2 separate regions of the Homo sapiens genome follow, and region 1 is linked to region 2. The links are contacts of gene promoters, found by promoter capture Hi-C in blood cells and fetal thymus (Javierre and others, 2016). All regions are on one chromosome and are shown on one strand. The core of a region is centred on a gene start or on the middle of the fragment in contact, and the rest is flanking DNA. Distances in the headings are between cores, read along the strand shown. Region 1 holds the start of LOC102723445 (a long non-coding RNA gene). Region 2 holds the start of MED23 (mediator complex subunit 23).

Region 1 (2,700 bases), core at 91-2,590, 500 kb before region 2:
CAGCACTTTGGGAGGCCGAGGTGGGTGGATCACTTGAGGTCAGGAGTTCGGGACCAGCCTAGCCAACATGGTGAAATTTGGTCTCTACTAAAAATACAAAAATTAGCCAGGTGTGGTGTCAGGTGACTGTAGTCCCAGCTACCAGGGAGGCTGAGGCAGGAGAATTGCTTGAACCCGAGAGGCGGAAGTTGCAGTGAGCCAAGATCATGCCACTGCACTCTAGCCTGGGTGACAGAGCAAGACTCTGTCAAAAAAAAAAAAAAATGCATGATTGAAAGAATAATATAAAATATAGAAGAATGCTTAATGACATGAGAAATTAGTCACAATATCTTGTAAAAGACAAAAGTAGCTTATGATGCCATAATGTGACATGATTTCATTTTTATAAAATATATGCTGCAGGAGTATGTGTTTATATGTGTATGTATATCTATGTCTAAAAAGATACAATTATAGATAATTTTACATTTTATTCCATAAGTTTTTCTGAATTTAAAAATATCATAAAACAACATGTTACTTACATAAAATTTTAGATTTGTAGTTAGAAATATTTAAAATAATTTAAAATGTTGCATTCTGTTATTAAATATTATCAGGCCCTTCAACTGTGTCTGACTACTGAAATAAGTCTATTATTAAATAGGTGTAGTGCTTTCTTAAAAATATTATACTCAAACATTAATTGAAAAGCTTACATGTTAAACACATATTCTTCTTCCAGCAAAATGAAATGTCACCCCGAGTTACCTTGGGTCACCAAGGGTCCCAGTTAGCTTTGTACTGATATTTGGCCGTGTCTTGTAGAACTGCATGATGTCATCCTTTTTTGTAACCATTTGCAACTTTAGTTTCTATGGGGACCAAGGAACATCCTAGGGCAAGAATTAAAACAGAGTCAATTGTTTTGGTAGAAATTCACTAGGTCAGGACCGTATCACAGAAGAGAAATGAGGGACCTGAAGAGAGAACTCACCATAAAGAAAGGAGTCGGGCAGGGTGAATGAGTCAATTTAGTAGTAGTTCCTGAAAGTCAGAAATGGGTCATGTTTCAGGAACAGTGTGGCAATCTGAACCTGAACACTTCCCATCCAATTATTTCAGCAATCATTGTACCTTGCCCTCTGGGGGAAATGGGGCAGTGTCTGTAAAGAAACTTGCTGTATCTCAAGGAATTCTGTAATTCTTATAGGTCCCAAAAATCTTCTGTGATGCAGCTCAACCTGCTCTACTCTTAGCAGAGTGTAATGTGTAGGGAGAAGTTGTTCTTTTCTCTTTTTTTGAGATGGAGTTTCACTCTTGTTGCCCAGGCACAATCTTGGCTCACTGCACCTCTGCAACCTCTGCCTCCTGAGTTCGAGCGATTCTCTGCTCCAGCCTCCTGAGTAGCTGGAATTACAGGCATGTGCCGCCACGCCTGGCTAATTTTGTATTGTTAGTAGAGACAGGGTTTTGCCATGTTGGTCAGGCTGGTATCAAACTCCTGACCTCAGGTTGTCCACCCGCTTCGGCCTTCCAAAGTGCTGGGATTACAAGCGTGAGCCACTGTGCCCAGCTGACCTTGTTCTTTTCATTTGCAAGAGATGTCACCATGAAGACTGGGAGAATCCACTGTGGCCAGGTGAATTAGCAGGCAGCTGATGTGCGCGAGGGCAGAGGACTTTCCGGAGTCAAGATTGGACAAATGGAACTCAGTGAAGCAAGGGCTGGGAACAGGTGGTAGCTTAGAATGATTCATTAGATTAGTTTTGCCAGACACCACTTGGAAACCCAAAAGTATTTTGGAGGAATTTCACAAAGGACTGGCGTCTTGGCATGAGTTGGTAGGTTCATTTAGCTATTAAGATTTAGATGTTAATGTTATACTTGCAGTTGGCTTTGCAGGGAAAAAAAGAAAAAAATAGAAATTAAAAAATTTTTAAAAAAGAAAAAACATTTAGATGTTAAAGTTAATGTTGGCTAATTTTTAGCCTTAAGCTGGAGAAGCTTGTTCAGGCGTGAGCAGGTATATGCAAACCTATCCTGAAGGGTTGTGGGAGCTGAGAGGCTGAAGAAAGTGACTGACAAATCCAGTTTTTCAGAAAGAAATATTTAACAGGGTCTTATGAACCAAAGTGACTCTCCAGAGGCCATGAGATTACACATCCTCGCATCCACCCTCCAGAAAGTATTCTAAGACTTGGGCAGTTGGTCCCATCTCAAACTTATGACCACTGGGGAGGTCAGATAAGCATCTTTATGAGGGGTTGTCTATGCTAGATGCTTGGTTTAAAAACCTTGCTGCAGAACACCTTTGCATGCAGGAGCCAGACATTGCTCTTCATGGAGGTTTTGCTTCAAGATGGCGCCACTCTTGCCACGCAACAGGCTGTTTGCCAACAAAACTGTAGGACATTAAGATTACCCGTGATATTGTTTCTCTTTCTTTCTTTTTTTTTTTTTTTTTGAAATTTATCTGGGAGTGCTGCTTTATTTTTTGACAAATCTGAGTACTTAATGGATCTGGATGCTTATAAAAGTTTTATTCATTCATTGAATGTCTATTCATTGAGAAATCTCTATGCATTTGGGAATACGAAGACTTTAAAACATAGTCTTTGCCTTCTAGTGGCGTAAAGTCTAATGTATGAAACAGAAAAATGTGGCAAAAGGGATGGTCAGAGCGGGCACAAGGAGTATTAAAGCCCTCAGGTGGAG
Region 2 (2,788 bases), core at 212-2,711:
ACCAGTGGCTGACACGCAAACAGTTCTCATTTCCCTACCTATAGTGTACCATGAGAAGGTAAGGCACTACTGCAATGTGAGCTCTTCGAGGATGACACATTTTTGTCTTTTTCACGGATACATTTTCTGGTAGCTGTTCTTTGTTACTTTTACAGTTTGTCTCCTCATTTTTACTATAATATTTTCCTATCCTTATTATAGAATCTTGGTATTCCTATTGTAGCATCTTTGTATCAATGCTGTGCCAATTCCTTTATTTAGCAGAAAAATGGAATTTGTATCCTTGACAAGTAAAGCTTAACATATCTGTTTTCAAGTGTACCAAATAAATCCGAATAGGATGAAAATGATCTCAATTAATCTAACATAGGGGAGGTTTTTTTTTTTAAACATCTCACACTGTGCAGTATCAACTTGACTTCTCAACACAGGTTTTCCACTGAAATATACAAATTAAAACAAATGGAAGCCAGAATAAAAAATGATAACAATTTTATTTCTCCCTTCTCAGGAAGATCTTAAGAGCAGCATGAAAGTAAATGTTAAAAGAAAAAAAAAAAAAAAAAGAAGAGGCCAAAAATCATCAGCTGAATGTATTAAAAATGAAGCGCTCACCTGAGAAAGACCACCCCAAAACTGTCTGAAGGCCCCCAAACAGCTAATTAGTTTTGTTTTCTCATCTTCAGGAGTATCCATAAACATGCTAAAAAAATAAAAATTACATTATTTGTCATTCGTTTTAAAAAGGTAATTACACACAATCAGAATAGTGGATCTTATAACCTTCCAACACGAAACTAAGTAAAATCTGACAGACACAATCACATAAAAACACAAAACTCTGCCACGCATACACTCACCCAGGAAAAGCCTCTTCTATAACTTCCGTTTTCTGTAAAAAAAAAAAAAACAAAATGTAAACAATGTTAATTTTAAAAAGGCGCCTCCCTTAGCCAAGTATTACAATGTAACACAGGGCAAGTCACCTTAATCAGCTCTGAAACTATCAATACCTGTCTGGCCTGTCACTGTATCGATTTCAAAGGATACAATGAACTTGACAGCAGTTTGAGAATCACTAAACTTCCCCGCATACAACCTCGGTGTCAAAACAAGGGAATAAAAAGGGAGGCGTGAGAGGAGGTTGCCCAGGCCAGTTTCCTTGGTCGGCTGCCCCCGCGTCTCCCCGTCCCCAAGCCGTAGTCCTGGATGGCCGGCAGCTGCACTCACCACCACCTCTTCGAAAATGCTCTGCAGTTGCGTCTCCATCTGTACTATCACCCCCGCCTTTCCAGGGTGCCCGGCAAGGCCCGGATCAGACTCGAGCTCTGGGAATATAGGGGCAGAGGGGCGGAGACCTCTGGAGGAAACCGTAGCTCCTCGGCGTCGCTTCCTCCCCCAGCGCTTTACCTGGAGCGTTCCCTCCCGAGCCCAGCCAACAGCAGGAACCTGTACGGAAGACGGGAAGGGCCCGGTACGCGCCGTTTGCAAACCCCGCAGAAACCAGCGGCGCCACCAGAAGGTTCCGTCTGTGGAGAAGGGCGGCCCGCAAGCCGGACGAGAGCGCCCCCAAACGGAACCTTGAGCCCAAGGACCCCGGAGGCATCGTCGACCGCAGGCCGCCACCTCCCGGCTGGAGAAGGAGTTGCTTCCTGTTCGGGGCTAACCCGCTTGCAGACTGAGAAATGAAAAGTTTGGAACCCAGAAGCTGCAGCCTGCGGAAAATGCTGGAGCCGCAGCCGACACCAAGTTGATGTCTGTGAGCAGCTGACCTTCTGGACCTCCATCAGCGGCCTGCAGCCAGGAGCTGAAGCCACAGAGACGGTGTCTTCTCAGCTATGATAACCTCAGTGCAAATGTAATTGATTGACTTTTGAATGCCAAACCAATTTTGCTTCTATGGTATAAATGCTACTTGGTCATAATATATTATCCTTTTTAATATATTGCTAGATTCTATTTGCTATTATATTGTTGAGAGTATGTGTTTTTCTTCATATGCCACCATCATCACCAACCCCTAAAACATCTGTTATGTCTTGAATGATCAGCTTTCTTTGCCTCATAAAGAAAATTGTTGATGAGAGTCATAGACATCCAAAGGCCTTTCACTTCTTTGACGGTTGTGAAATGCCACAAACTGCTAAGCATGAACTACTCCTTTGTAGCTGCTAAGTGATGAGCTGATGACTCCCCATTCATGGTTTTGTTATACAAGTGTCTGACCTGGCATAAATTTAGTTTTCTAACAACTTTAATATGCACATGCAACCATGTTGTCCACACAATAGCTACTAAAAGCTGAAAAGAAATAATTCAGATTTCCTGCTGGAGAAAAACTTGAAAAGTTAGGCTTAGGGTATTGTTTGCTAGGGTTGCCATAACAAAATACCACAGACTGGGTGGCTTAAACAACAGAAATTTCTTTTCTTGTAATTCTGGAGGCTGGAAGTCTGAGGTTGAGGTTGATAGGGTTAGTTTCTATAGAGGCCTCTGTCCTTGGCTTGTAGATGACCTTCTTCTCCTTGTGTCTTCACATGGTCTTCCCTTTGTACATGTCTGTGTCGTAATTTTCTCTTCCTAGAAGGACATCAGTCAGGTTAGGGCCCATGTATCTACTCTAAAGAGCTTTAGCTTAGTTGAAGACATAGACATTTTAAACCATAATAGAGTGTGATATGTGCAATACTAGTGATGCTAATAAAGTGCCAGGGAGAAAAGGAGGAAATACAAATTTTTCTACAGAAAGGAATTTAGAAAGATACCTAGGGGAGTTTGCTTAGATTGC

The links. Contacts are between HindIII fragments. The CHiCAGO score rates a contact against its expected background, and 5 or more counts as called.
Region 1: a contact is called between a fragment that was not itself captured here and the fragment with the promoter of MED23 in region 2, in 1 of 17 cell types (total CD8 T cells). The highest score is 7.4, in total CD8 T cells.

Annotation. Positions count from the first base shown.
Region 1 is chr6:131,129,036-131,131,735 of GRCh38, forward strand. It overlaps LOC102723445 (a long non-coding RNA gene), which reads right to left and starts at 1,326. Exons shown (of 4, transcript XR_428022.3): 1 at 980-1,326; 2 at 702-878. It also overlaps a transcript of AKAP7 not described here. The HindIII fragment of the contact is 1,293 bases long and covers 695-1,987 here.
Region 2 is chr6:131,626,781-131,629,568 of GRCh38, forward strand. It overlaps MED23 (mediator complex subunit 23), which reads right to left and starts at 1,462. Exons shown (of 29, transcript NM_004830.4): 1 at 1,231-1,462; 2 at 861-892; 3 at 616-703. The coding sequence starts at 1,269. RefSeq lists enhancers at 1,102-1,151, 1,282-1,451. The HindIII fragment of the contact is 7,493 bases long and covers 295-2,788 here.